Linked DNA regions of Homo sapiens: regions 1, 2, 3 and 4 are each linked to region 5. Evidence: promoter capture Hi-C in 16 types of primary human blood cells and fetal thymus (Javierre and others, 2016). All regions are on one chromosome and are shown on one strand. The core of a region is centred on a gene start or on the middle of the fragment in contact, and the rest is flanking DNA. Distances in the headings are between cores, read along the strand shown.

What was found. The method cuts DNA at HindIII sites, captures the fragments that hold promoters and counts their contacts. A CHiCAGO score of 5 or more calls a contact.
Region 1: a fragment that was not itself captured here is called in contact with the fragment with the promoter of HRH3 in region 5 in 12 of 17 cell types (activated CD4 T cells, M0 macrophages, neutrophils and 9 more); the score reaches 10.4 in activated CD4 T cells.
Region 2: a fragment that was not itself captured here is called in contact with the fragment with the promoter of HRH3 in region 5 in 6 of 17 cell types (M2 macrophages, monocytes, M0 macrophages and 3 more); the score reaches 5.7 in M2 macrophages.
Region 3: a fragment that was not itself captured here is called in contact with the fragment with the promoter of HRH3 in region 5 in 10 of 17 cell types (neutrophils, M2 macrophages, total CD4 T cells and 7 more); the score reaches 8.8 in neutrophils.
Region 4: a contact is called between a fragment that was not itself captured here and the fragment with the promoter of HRH3 in region 5, in 1 of 17 cell types (neutrophils). The highest score is 5.5, in neutrophils.

The regions. Positions count from the first base shown.
Region 1 is chr20:62,008,300-62,010,999 of GRCh38, forward strand. TAF4 (TATA-box binding protein associated factor 4) reads right to left here. Exons shown (of 15, transcript NM_003185.4): 4 at 1,747-1,866; 5 at 753-875. Among named protein-coding and RNA genes, the nearest start is that of MIR3195, 55 kb to the right of the region's middle. The HindIII fragment of the contact is 5,713 bases long and covers 1-2,700 here.
Region 2 is chr20:61,990,191-61,992,890 of GRCh38, forward strand. The region is part of intron 14 of TAF4 (TATA-box binding protein associated factor 4); the gene reads right to left. Among named protein-coding and RNA genes, the nearest start is that of MIR1257, 38 kb to the left of the region's middle. RefSeq lists an enhancer at 1-63. The HindIII fragment of the contact is 9,088 bases long and covers 1-2,700 here.
Region 3 is chr20:62,036,840-62,039,539 of GRCh38, forward strand. All of the region lies in intron 1 of TAF4 (TATA-box binding protein associated factor 4), which reads right to left. It also overlaps the pseudogene RPL17P48. Among named protein-coding and RNA genes, the nearest start is that of MIR3195, 27 kb to the right of the region's middle. The HindIII fragment of the contact is 5,228 bases long and covers 1-2,700 here.
Region 4 is chr20:62,058,778-62,061,477 of GRCh38, forward strand. The region is part of intron 1 of TAF4 (TATA-box binding protein associated factor 4); the gene reads right to left. Among named protein-coding and RNA genes, the nearest start is that of MIR3195, 4.7 kb to the right of the region's middle. The HindIII fragment of the contact is 354 bases long and covers 1,135-1,488 here.
Region 5 is chr20:62,218,907-62,221,606 of GRCh38, forward strand. It overlaps HRH3 (histamine receptor H3), which reads right to left and starts at 1,372. Exons shown (of 3, transcript NM_007232.3): 1 at 815-1,372. The coding sequence starts at 1,064. RefSeq lists a silencer at 1,477-1,586. The HindIII fragment of the contact is 16,770 bases long and covers 1-2,700 here.

The DNA of each region.
Region 1 (2,700 bases), core at 157-2,656, 210 kb before region 5:
GACAAGGAGAAGGCACGGTAAGACCAGCCACTCCAGATCCCCAGGCCATCCCACTGACGCCAGCACAGCCCTGAGCCACGAGACAGCCATGAGGCTGAGGAAGGTGGACAGCCGAGAGCTCGGCCATGAGTGGAGATCTGGAGCTTGGGACTGTGGGTTAAGGAGAGGGGAGGCTGCCAGGAATCCTCCCTCCCACCTTCCGGCCAGGGGACAGAGTGCTGTTCTCTGCGACAGAGGTTTCGGGAGGGGTGGGGGTGGGGGGGACGGCTCTGCCACTGGAGCGCGAATGTGCCTCAGCTGGTCTGCTCCATGGGGAGGGGGCTTCTGGTGGCTCAGGGTGCAGAATGCCTGTTCCAGCCGGGACTGCGGACACCTGGGAATTTTATAAGAGGTCACACAGGAGTGGGGAGAGGGCCAGAAGGGAGTTGCTGGAGACCCTGACCAGAGTGCAGCATGGTTGGGGCAGCCAGAGGAGAAGAGAGCCACAGACAAGGGACGCAGGCACCAGAAAACGGCAAAGCCCGGGAGACCTCCAGGCGCCGGCCCCAGAACACCCAGCCCCAGGAAGGAGTCTCCTTAGCTAGGCCACACACGCCTTCGACACGTGTGCACCCCTCCCCTTCGCCTGCAGCCTTCCAGAGGAGCTCTCCCTGCTGGCACAGGCCTCCCGGGCACAGGTCACAGCAGCAACAGGTGTCTGTCCTATGCAACAGGCTTTAGGGGAAAGGGAATGTAAAGTCAAGGTTTCTCACCAGTAAATTCTGCACGAGCTCTTTCACATTAGCTGCTGTCTCTGTAGACTGCTTGCCAGATGAAGCCAGTTTTATTAACGTAGATAGGAAATTTTTACATTTCTTCACGTTTTCCATAGTTTCCTGGATTAAAGTAAAAAGATATAAGTGAAAAATCTTAAAAGGCAGATTTTTGTCACAGCCTTTGGTTACTAAAATATGCATATGTACAAAAGATACATATATTTCTTCTCTAAACTTCTTTCAAGAAAACGCACCACCTCTTGGAACCCTGGGCCATGGGGCAGGCCAGCCACATCAGTCACATGGCCACCGAAGTCAGCATCTCCCTCAGCCCCGCAAGGCCACATCTAGGAATGCAGCTATGCAAATAATTAAAAAAGTGAAAAGAGACTCTGCGAAGATGCCTGCTACAATGTTGCTGACCATAAGGACAACCTATGCCAATCCAAACGGACACAGAAGGAACCAAATAGGATGCGGTCACTAAAGCAACGAAAAGTACGCAGCAAAGAAACACCAAAAAGGCGTCAAGTGGGGCCCACTGTTTAAAGATGTCTATCGATACAGGCCGACACTGTGTGTACAAACGGGTGGCGCTGCTGTTTTACACACTGAACACAACAGTTCACCAGTGACTCTTCTGTTTTAATAAAGATGTGTATCGATACAGGCCGACACTACGAGTGTGTACAAACGGGTGGCGCTGCTGTTTTACATACAACGCGACAGTGCACCAGTGACTTTTTCAAAGGCAGGTGTTTGGGCTTTTGCTGTTTGCAGACTTCTGCGGTCTAAGGCCCTCGGAGCCCACCTCACACAGCACAGCAGCAGAGCCCCACGTGCTCACGTGGGCCCCAGACTGTTCACTGCTTTGTGAAGCAAGCAGTGAGCGGTCTGGGACAGAAGCCGGCCTGAGGTCTCAAGGCTGCATTTTCTGACCTGCGCCACGGGCCTGACCGTCTTTGAAGGCACGGAAAGGAGTGGCTCTTACCGTGGCAGCTGAGGAAGTGGTGGTCGCCCCTGGTACCGTGCGCTGAGGAGTCCCCGTCTGAACAGCCGTCGCCGTCCCAAGTGAAGCCGTCTGGGCAGCGCCACCCAGAACGAGCTGAGGCTACAAGAATCCAAAAACACAAGGTAAGGGCATCTCACGCCACCAGCTGACGAGGGGGAGACCAGCCTCACGCCCAGCAAAAGAAAACAAGCCTCCCTGCGGTGGCCAGGACGCCCAGGAAGCCAAGGACCCCGGCCACCTGCCAGCCCGCTGGACACGGGAGTGCTGCTGGGAGGCCTGCCCTGTGCCCTGACGATCGCAGTCCTGAGCGGGTGAGGAAGGCATGATTTGCACCTGCATCAAAAACGGACGTTCACAAAGCCAGGCACTGCAGAGACCCCAGTCCTCAGAAGTCCATGGAAAAAGTCACATAGAGACCAGAGTAAATAATCCTAACAGGCAACCCAGATCCCCATCTCTCAGAAATCAAAACAACAAACAGAAGAACGGCTCCTGAAAGCTCCATCCTCCCAGGTGCAGAGGCTGGCTACAGGGCGGTCAGGGCTCCACAGCCGCAGCCTCCCATAGGGGAGGGTCCCCAGCTCCCTGCAATCACCCAAACCCACCTTTCTTTACTCCCCAAAAGTGAGTGTCAACAAGAAGCCTCCCACAGAGGGGAGTTTTCAGAGCAGATTCGAGCAATGGAGGATGGGTCATCAGTGTCAAACTGTCAGAAAGGAGGGGCTGCTTTGCTAAGCAAATGAACAGCCAGACGCCAAAAGGTAGCTCAGACAACTCAGTGGCCTGTACTCGATTCCTAACATTTCCATTCTACATGAATAATCAGAATGCAAATGTTTACTGATATTTTAAACTAGTACTTTTCCAATGTATAAATCTAGCAGTCAACATTTTCTGTCTCCAATTTTTTAAACACTCCTTTGCAACTTCTGA
Region 2 (2,700 bases), core at 171-2,670, 230 kb before region 5:
GTACATATTGAAAAAGTACAGGAGTGCACGCAAACACATGTGGTGTAGCGGGGACGAAGCAGACAGCGTGATGCTCATACACCGGAGTCTGCACGGAGCTCCTTACTCTGTTCTTGCAACTTTTCTGTAGATTTGAAAACTACTTCAAACTAAAATAAGTAATTTTCAAAGTTAATGTATTCTGGAAGACGATGACAGGGGTAGCATAGTTTCTGGATCTTCCCAAAGTTCCACATAAAAGAGCAACGACACAGCAAAACCAAAAGCCAGCGGACAATCTTTAGAACAAAACTGATGAAGATGAACCACAAGCAGCCATCACCTGAAGGACGCTGCAGAACTGGACCCCGACGGGCCTGGACCCAGGAGCCAGCAGACTTCCTGGGAAGAGCAGCAGGTCCCTCCAAGAGCCGCAGTCAAACCTGGGGCAGGGGAGGACCAGGGAGGGCAGCCTGGCCACCGCAAATGCCCACACTGACCTGCCAGGGCTCCTGCAGCACAGGGCCTCACGCAGGAGAGAACCTGCTGGGAGTGAATCAGTACTGAGCAGGACAGGGACAAGGAAGGCAAAGCAAAGTCCAGATGCTTGGGAGGTGCACAGAGCCCCGGAGCCACAGACGCTGAGGACTCCCGTTCTTAACATCACGGGAAAGTAACCACAGAGGAGCACCACAAAGTCAGCAAACGCTGCAAACCACGTGTCCTGTTACAAGTTCGAGAAACCTAAACTCACGTCGAAATTAGCAACAGAAAGACATTCAGGTCAAATCCCAGACAGGCTCCCATGAGAGAAAAAGAGGATAAAAAGCAGAAGAGCATCCCTACAGACCACAGAAGACCTCAGAAACACATACTCAAAACAGCAGGTAAACAGCAAATCACGCCTTAAGAGAAATGGAAGCCAAAAAGGACAAAAAAGATAATTTTTTAAAAAAGAGAAAAATTAGGCCAGGCACAATGGCTCACACCTGTAATCCCAGCACTTTGGGAGGCTGAGACGGGCAAATCACTTGAGGTCTGGAGTTTGAGACCAGCCTGGCCAACATGGTGAAACCCTGTCTCTACTAAAAATACAAAAAAATTAGCTGGGTGTGGTGGTGCACACCTGTAATCCCAGCTACTCAGGAGGCTGAGGCAGAAGAAAACCAGGAGGCAGAGGTTGCCATGAGCTGAGATCACACCGAGATAGAGCCACTGCACTCCAGCCTGGGTGACAGAGGGAGACTCTGTCTCAAAAAATAAAAATTAAAAAAAAAGAGAGAGAGAAATTAGGCTGGACACAAGTGGCTCAGCAGCATTTAGGGAGGCCAATGTGGGAGGACTGCTTGAACCCTGGAGGTCGAGGCTGCAGTGAGCTGTGATCACACCACTGCACTCCAGCATGGGTGAGAGAGACCCTGTCTCTAAAAAACCAAAAAACAAAAAAAAAGAGAGAGAGAGATTTTAAAAATTAAGAGACTGTAAAAAGTGCTCCAGCAGGCAAAGAAGATACAACACGTGGAAAATGGGACTCTCTGAAGAAAGAAACAAAAGAACAGAACAAACACAAAGGATCATTATTGCAGATGTTCCTAAGGAGACTTGAACCGCACTGAAAGAACACAGCCAGTACTGAGAACACCACCCCAGCACAACCAAGCCCAGCACGCACTCCAGTGGGATGAGCCGGCTTCCGAGAAAAAGGACACCCAGGGAAGAAAAACACGTGGCCTACAGGAGGTAAAATGAGGCTCTCATTAGATTTGGACAGTAACACTTTAGGGAGGAAATAATCCAGAGTAACATCCTTAAGACACTTCAGTAAATACAACGTGAGCCAAAAAACAGACCTTCAGGTACAAAGGGCACAAACTCATCAGCAGGTGGGAACTTGGGAGTGGCTGCTCCCATGAAGCGTTCCAAAAGAATCTAGCAGAGAATGAGATTTGGAAAAATCAAAATGACTACAGAGACACAACATAAAGACGAGTCACGGCATTAAACATGTCATTATTTATGGCACTAAAACTCAAAGAGGGCGAAAGGGAGAGCTTATGGTGTGTAACAGCTAAATGTTTCGACAACATAAATACAGCACAAAATACAAAACGGGGCCAAGGGAGAAAGCACATGAACAACTTTCGGCTGTTTTCACCACCCTCGGCAGGAGTGCCCATATTCTTATTCTCAGGCTATGTCCAAAGGTAGGAGATATTTTAATTCTATTATCTCCTATGTCCATAACCAGGATCCTTTTATTTTAATCTCTCCTTCTCCTGCCCTCCCCTCCAATTCCCCACCCCCCAAGCCCTTGGGGCAGCCAAGAGCCAGAATTCTTACTGTGAAGATAAAGACGTCATTTTGAACATGGTAACTCCTACACCTCTGAATTTGAACTACCTGAATTGGAAATACCCATATAAGCCCATGAGACCATGTTTTACACACATTTCCCAGTGCTGTCCACTGAAAAGGCCAACCCACCCCAGCAGCAATGACATCCCTAGTCCCAGCGAGTGGTCTTCAAACGCCATTTCCCACTAGAAGAAACCAGTTCTTGGAGAAATGACTTTTTCGGTCTGAAACAGGAAAGGTGTAAGGTGAGCCTGACACATGTTAACGTCCAGACGGCAAGGACATCAGCCCCACGTCCCAGCGTGACTCAGGAACCAACCTGGAGATGCTTCCATTGGCCAAAGATGGCACAGTCTGAACTGCAAC
Region 3 (2,700 bases), core at 201-2,700, 180 kb before region 5:
ATGGTAGCAGAAGCGGGGGGACTTTGGGGGCCCAGCCCTCATTAACCGGATTAGCGCCCTTATGAAAGAGCCTGTCCCACAGCTGCCTTGCCCCTTCCTTCCACACTCTGAGGACACACAAGAAGCTGCATGGGAGCAGGCAGCAGGCCCTCACCAGCATGGCAATCTTGCACTTCCCAGGACTGTGAGAAATGAATTTCCGGTGTCTAGAAGCCTCCCAGTCTATGGTATTTTGTTACAGCAGCCAGAATGGCCTATGACAGAAGGGGATTCCTCAACCTAACACAGGGCCTCTATGAAAAACCTGCAGCTGACATCATGTGCGTCATGAGAGAAGACAGACTGCCTCCCCCAAGATCAGAAACAAGGCAAAATGTCCCTTCTCAACGCTTCTGTTTGTCATATTACACTGGAGGTTGTGGCCAGTGCAATGAGACAAGAACAAGAAATAAAAGGTGCACAGACCAGAAAAAAAGACATGAACCACTCTTTACTGCAGATCACGCCTATCTTTGAAGAAAATCCTAAGAAATCCACAGGATATAAAGTCAATTTTTTTTATTTTAATTGCATTTATTGTATGCTGAGTTTATTCCCATGCCACAAGTTTTTGTTTCTTCAGTTTCTTCTGGTACAGTTTTCCTCTGTGCAACTTCCTCACCTGGCTTGGGAACAAGTGTCTTTACCGTGAGGATCGTCTCAATGTGACGGGGCGCCCTGTATGGATGAACCCGACCACCAGCCCTGGAAGTCCCACAGCGCATCCTGGGTGCTCAAACACCAGAGAGCCTACATCTACACCCTCACATTCAGTGTGACTCTCCACATTTTTAATTGTGTGCAGCAAAAATTCAGCGCTCTTTTCGGGTCACCAACCCTGTGTCCAGCCCCACTGTTTGGCCTAGGTACACCTGCCAGCTCCACCCCTGCCAAGTCGGAATGGCATACACTGTTTCTATAAAGGGACGTCTTTCAGACACTTGGTGACTTCTCACGTATGCATACCCTTGATGGCCTGGGCAGTTTCACGAGCGTTCTTAAAGTGATCAAGAAGACCTGAACCTCTGGATTTGCACGATTTTGTGGGGATTTCTGGGTCAAGTGACTAATGAACCATTTTCACAGATCATCTCAGGCCGCTTGGGGAAGAGCTATAAAGTCACTATTTTTAAAAGCAATTTTTTTGTTGTTTTTTTTTTGGTTTTTTGAGACGGAGTCTCACTCTGTCGCCCAGGCTGGAGTGCAGTGGCGCGATCTCGGCTCACAGCAAGCTCCGCCTCCCAGGTTCATGCCATTCTCCTGCCTCAGCCTCCAGGTGGCTGGGACTACAGGAGCCCACCACTACGCCCGGCTAATTTTTTGTATTTTTACTAGAGACAGGGTTTCACAGTGTTAGCCAGGATGGTGTCGATCTCCTGACCTCGTGATCCACCAGCTTCGGCCTCCCAAAGTGCTGGGACTACAGGCGTGTGCCACCATGCCCAGCTAATTTTTTGTATTTTTAGTAGAGACAGGGTTTCACAGTGTTAGCCAGGATGGTCTCAATCTCCTGACCTCATGATCCGCCCGCCTCAGCCTCCCAAAGTGCTAGGATTACAGGTATGAGCCACTGAGCCACCGAGCCACTGACCCACCGCGCCCGGCCAAAAGCAATTGTTTTTCTAAATACTGGCAACAATTGGAAACAAAATTTTTTAAAGGACCACGTACATGGCATAAAATATGAATACTTAAGAATAAATTTAACAAAGTATGTTCAGGATACAAACACTGAGAACTTGAAACAACCCTGAGAAAAATCCTGAAAGGCCTAAATCAATGAAGAGGTACAACACGTTCGTGAATCAGAACACTCGATATTGCTAAGATATCAATGATCATAAAACCGATCTATAGACTCAATACAATCCCAAGCAAGATATCAAGGTATTGGCCAGGCCCAGTGGCTCACACCTGTAATCCCAGCACTTTGAGAGGCTGAGGCAGGCGGATCACCTGAGGTCAGGAATTCAAGACCAGCCTGGCCAACACGGCAAAACCCTATCTCTACTAAAAATACAAAAATTAGCCGGGTGTGGTGGCACGTGCCTGTAATCCCAGCTACTCGGGAGGCTGAGGCAGGAGACTCACTTGAACCCGGGAGTCGGAGCTTGCAGTGAGCCAAGATCGTGCCACTGCACTCCAGGAAAAGATGTGAAAGAGTGAAAAATTCCGTCTCAAAACAAACAAAAAGCTATCAAGGTATCAAGAGGCTTTTTTTGTAGAAGTTGACGAACTGATTCTGAAACACATGAATGCAAACGACCAGAACAGCCCTCAACGTTTTCGAAAAAGCAGCACTGGAGGACTCCTGCCACCCATCAACACTCCCTCTAAATGGGCTGGAAAGTGCTGAGCTGCAGAAGGGAAGACAAGGACATGAGTGGACAGAACACATCCCAGAAGTGACGTCCTCACACGTGGCCGACTGAGTTTCAATAAAGGCAGCAGCATCGTTCAATAGAGAAAGGAAGGTCTCCTCAACACATAAGGCTGGCATGATTGGTAACCACAGAAAAAATGAGTCTCAACCCCCTACCTTACAACTCTCCCAAAATTAACTTGAATTGGGTTGAGTAAGAGCTAAAGCCATAAGCATTCTAGAAAACTCCTGTACCTTGGGTTAGGCAAAAATTTATTTAAGAAGGCACAAGATGAATT
Region 4 (2,700 bases), core at 62-2,561, 160 kb before region 5:
CCTCAGCAAGACCTCAGGAAGGACGGACACAGGTCTACACACCAGGCCACAGACAATGGGGCTCGGGGGCCAACCTCAGCAAGACCTCAGGAAGGACGGACACAGGTCTACACACCAGGCCACAGACAATGGGGCTCGGGGGCCAACCTCAGCAAGACCTCAGGAAGGACGGACACAGGTCTACACACCAGGCCACAGACAATGGGGCTCGGGGGGCCAACCTCTCCAGTCCCCAAACACAGTCCCCAACAGACAACTTCTCCTGTCCCCACATGCGGCTCCCAACAAACAATTTCTCCTGCCCTCACACGCGGTTCCCAACGACAACTTCTGCTCCACAACATGACACCCACGGTGGGAGAAGCTGGGGGCACTTCACTACATCATCCTGCACACTGCAGCATGGCCTGCTCCAGGCAGAAGGCAGGCCTGGAGAAGAGCCTGGGACCACCGCGGACTGACCAACAGCGGACACCAGGTACTTTCTCAAATGGGAGAGGGGCCTCATGGTGGACAACATGTATCTCTTTGTTTTTCGAAAGCTGTACATCTTTGGTGCAAATGTTCATTTGAGATATGTAAAAATCAAAAGTTTTCACTCAAAACTTTCATGGTCCAACCATGGAAATATTAAGCACCCCATTTTCGAACATAACTTGACAGCACTTATTCTACTTCATTATTCCACGCAAGAATTGGAAAGAACAGCTGTGTACGTGTTTGCAGCTGACACCACAATGCCATAGCAACCGCAGGCCCACCTGGAAGCAGAAGCGTCCAGGAAGCCCAGGTGCACAGCACTCGGCACAGAAGGGCCTGCAGCCAAAAGCCCCCTTTATTTAACTGCTTTATTGCTATCAAAGGCCTGATTAAGTAAACGCCCCCATCACGCTGCCTGAGCCGGGCACCACAGGTGAACACCCTAAACAGCAACTGTTTCCTGGATGATCGAGGGCTTGGAGGTTCCTACTGAGCACCATGAAGAAGAAAAGCAAAGCACTTCGGGAACCCTGCAAATTACCCCAAATCTCAGGCAAGCTTCTCCAGAGCCCTGTTACACCTCTGCTTCAAGATCCTCAAACACAGCTGCTAATTATGCTTTGATCAACTCACTTACAACCAACAATTTATAAAAGCTTTCTTCAAATTTATCCCTTAAGTGGAAGAAAACTCACATTATACAGTAGAAAAGGCTTTGGAGGTAGAACAGGAACTGTCTCCATTCCACTCTGATTTCGGGATGCGGACACGCCCACCAGTCTGTTCTGCTGAGCCCGGTCTGTGCTGCTCTGACCAGACGCCGCCTCCCGGCCTCCCTGTGCTGATGTCTAAGGGGCAACTTCCACAGCACACCGGGGAGCCCGGGGGCAGTCCTGGAAGCCAGGGTGGCTCTGCTCTCTGCCCTGGGAGAAGGCCAACTTCCCAGGCGCCCGGGGCCTGCCTCAGGTCCATTTGCCACAGAAGCAAGCGGGACACCCTCTCCTACAAAGCTTCTCACAGGCCCTAAGAACCAGGGCAACCGTAACGAACTTCAAACGTCATCCTCTGTTCAAACTCATAGACCTCTGCTGTGAATGCAGTGCTCGGGCACAGTAAGCAGTGAGGAGAGAGGCTCCTAAGAGCGTCACAGGACCCCGACTCCTGGCTGCCACTAAGCCATGAGGGTCACCAGCTCTGAGACACCAAAGGCAGGTGAGGTCCATCCCAACCTGTCACCAAGATGACTCTGTTCATCCCGAAGGCGATGGTGACGACCCCAGCCGCGGGGCAGGGGGCAGGGAGGAAGGGAAGACCCAGAGCGGCGCCCTTGCCCTATGCTAGGCAGAGCTGTCCAGGGCTGTCTTTACACAGCTCCCCAAAAGTTCTTTTTCTTTGTTCTTTTCAAATGTCACTCCTACCTGAGTATGTCAAAAGAAACACCAGATTAAGGCCTCTAGCCTAAAGTGAGCCCTCCACCCAGGTCCAGGCCTCCAAAGGCCACTGCAACCCTCCCCTATGTTGGCAACCACCGCCCCAGGGTGACCCACCTCAGACCTCGGTAACTTCCCCATTGACAGAACCAGTCAGCTGCCACACCAAACACCTCAGTCACTGAGAAAACATCCAGTCTGGATTAATGTGTGAAAATCAGTGAAAAATGAGGGGAACTGGGAGAGTTTGGAATAGTGAGCGCCACCTGACAGCTATGTTATCTGGCCCAACCTGACAGAATTCACATTCTTCACCAAAAGGGCAACCCCACTTTACAGCTGGGTAAGCCAAGGCTCCGAGGAACAACATATTCCTCCCAGGTCAAACGGCAACAGGGCCCTCAAGTCACAAAATCTAAACTTTTAGGAATGTCCCTTGTGCCAGAGCACTGGCTGCCACCACTGGCCACCAGAACTCACAGCTCCTGCAACCTCAGGGGTGGCCGTCTGCATGCCGCCACCCAGCATGGGCCTGGACTCGCCAAATCCAACCCGTCCCAACAGCGCGATTAAGGGCTAGTGGACATTTTCCCCCTTTCCCCACAGATGGGAACCAATGCTCCAGACAGCACCCACAGACACACATTCACCTGGGAGTACTCATCCTAAAACATGCAGCAAGCACACGCCCCCTAGGCCAAGGGATCAAGGCCCATGGTGAGAAAGTGCTTTTCTGTCCTGGAATGGGAATCTACACTTGGGCCAAATCTTAGAGCAAAAGGAGAGTAAA
Region 5 (2,700 bases), core at 122-2,621:
GGGGAACTCTGGCCACCACAAGACCCCCGAGAGCCTGGAGTCGGGATTCCCTGGACTTCTGTCCAGCCCTCCCAGCCCTCAAAGGAGGAAAGAAGACAATTTCCTTCTCCCCTCCCCCGCTGGACTCCAGCCCCTACCCTGGCGCTGGACAACCCTCGGTCTCAGCTTAGACAAGGAGAAAGCCTTTCTCCTGGCTGAAAGGGCACTTGGTTGCAGCCGCCAGCCGCCAGCCGCTACTACTACTGCCAAGCGGGCTTGGAGCGTCTGGGAGACGCACCTCACAGCCCCAACAGGTGTCTGGCGCTCCAGCCCCCTCCGCGTGCCCCGCCCCCCAGCCGGCAGCAGAGCCTGGACACGTGAGAGCACGCTCCTCCGAGCGTCTCCCCCAACCCCCACCTTCCCCACCGTCCCTTCCCCCAACACAGCTCTAAAAATCCCCCTTCCATGTCCCCTCCCCCAGACCTTCTCTAAACCGCCCCACTGCGCCCTCCGCGCGTCCTAAGTCCGCAGCAGCCTTTGTTTGGCTACAGCGCAGGAGCCAGAGCTGCACCCGCTGCCTTTGCGCCTTGCGCCTCGCCCAGTGCCCGTGTCCCTTCCCGGGGACATCTCTCCCCAGCCCCTGTCCCGAGGCCTGAGTGGCAAGGAACTTCGCCTGTGCCCCCCACCCCATGGGCTCCGGACGCCCCCTTCCCAGGCCGGGTCCCCTGGTGGGGCGTGTGCCTGCGGGAGCCACCCAGGTCCGTGTTCCAGTCCCCGCTGGCCCGGCCACGCTGGGCGCCCCTGGGTCCCCAGCGGCCAGGGGCTGGGGATTTACCGACGAGGAAGTCGGAGATGGCGAGGTTGAGCAGGAAGAAGTTGTTCTGGGTGCGGAGGCTCGAGTCGGCCACGAAGGCGAGCATGACCAGCGCGTTGCCCAGCACCGTGGCCACGATGAGCAGCGCCATGAGCGCGGCCAGCACCGCGGTCCAGGCTGCCGAGAAGCCGCGCGCCCCGCCCGCCGCCGCCGCCTCGCCCGCCAGCGCCCCCGAAGCGTTCAGCGGCCCGTCGGGCGGCGCGCGCTCCATGGCCCCGCAGGCTCACGCGGCTCCGGGACGCGGGGCAGGGCGCCGGCCGAGAGCTGGGCGGCCGGGAGGGGCCCCGGCCCGGGAGCCTCGTCTTTGCGGGCCCTTGGCCGGGTCGGGTTCCCCTGGGGGCGCCCAGCGCATGGTCCGCGGGGCCGGGGCCGGGGCCAGAGCAGGCGGTGCCGAGGGGGCCGGGGCCGGATCCGAGCCCAGTGGGGCCGGCAGCGCGGCTGCTGCAGCGGGAGAGGAGCCGGAGCCTGAGCCGCTGCCGGTGCGACCGTGCAGCCGGAGCGCAACGCGCAGCCGAGTGCGCCCCGCGCCCAGCCCACCGCCCCGCGCGCCCCGCGCAGCGCCCCCGCCATTGGCTGCCGCCCTCGCCCCGCCCCCTCCCCGCCCCCGCCCCGCCCGGCGCCGGCAGCACCACGGACAGCGCCGCGTGCCCGCCAGGCTGCCTGGAGCCCAGCCCCTGCGCTCACAGCAGCTGGCTGGGAGCCCGGCCGGGGCTTGACCGGGTCTGGGGGCTCGCCTGCGGTCAGTCAGCCCGCGCACTCGGAGCCGGGGTCTGGGTTGCTCGGCCTTTCCCGTGCCCTCGGCCCTGGTGACCCCTGCCCGGTCATCATGGAGAGCCCTGGCGCCTGTGGGGACCCGGGGTGGGGGTGGGGGAAACGCCTGCACCCGCGCTCCGGGGACTTGCCCTGCGGGGCATTTCCTCGGTGCATGTTTTGGGAATGTGGGTCTCCGGGGCAAGGAACGTCTGGAGGAGAAGGGATGGGGAGGAGGGGGTCTTGGAAAGCCGGTGCCCAGACCAGGGGTCCGCTCCACCTCCCGTTTGCACGGACCCTGGGTGCCAGCCTCCGTGTGGACAGGGCCCAGTGCAGGGTCCAGGGTGACCCGCAAGGCGCAGGCAGATGTGGAGTTACATAAGGGAAGATGAGGCGCCGGGCGGACCCAGCCGGAGGGGAGCGCGTCTAGCCTGGGCTCCGGCGGCCTCAGGCTGAGGAGGGAGCAGCAAGCCGCTCGGAGCCCAGCCACGGACCCCTGTGGACAGAGGGGCAGTCGCCACTGCAGCGGACAGACGAGGTCACTGCGCTCAGGGCGCAGGTGGTGGCTGTGTTAGCGCCTGTGGGAGGGGACGGGGGAGGAGAGGAGAGGTGGCAGGAGGGAGCGCCCCCACCACCAGACACATGCGCTCAGATACACCGGGTCAAGGACAGATTCCTCCTGAAACACTGAGGGCAGACAGACAGACATGCCCACACTCAGATACACAGACACCCACAGGCCAGGGAAGCAGCCACCAGCGCCAGGCTGAGGACCCACCAAGAGCGAGACACACATCAGACAGCAGGCAGGGAGGGAGCCGCGCCCCAGGAGAAGGAAGCAGCAACTCCGCTCACAGGAGAAGGAAGCAGCCGAAGGCATCCCTGGTGCCTCAAAGAGGCCAGAGTGCGCGTGTCTGGGGGAGGGGCTGCAGAGGGGACCCCGGGCGCTGACATGCACCGTCACTCCCCTACTTATAGCAGCTTCCCCATACTGTGGGGACCTGCCCCTTCCCCTCGCCCCCCGTGGCGCTTCAGAAACTTTGGGGAAGGAGGAGCTGGGATTCCTCTGCTGCCACCTCAGGGCTGACTGCAGAAAG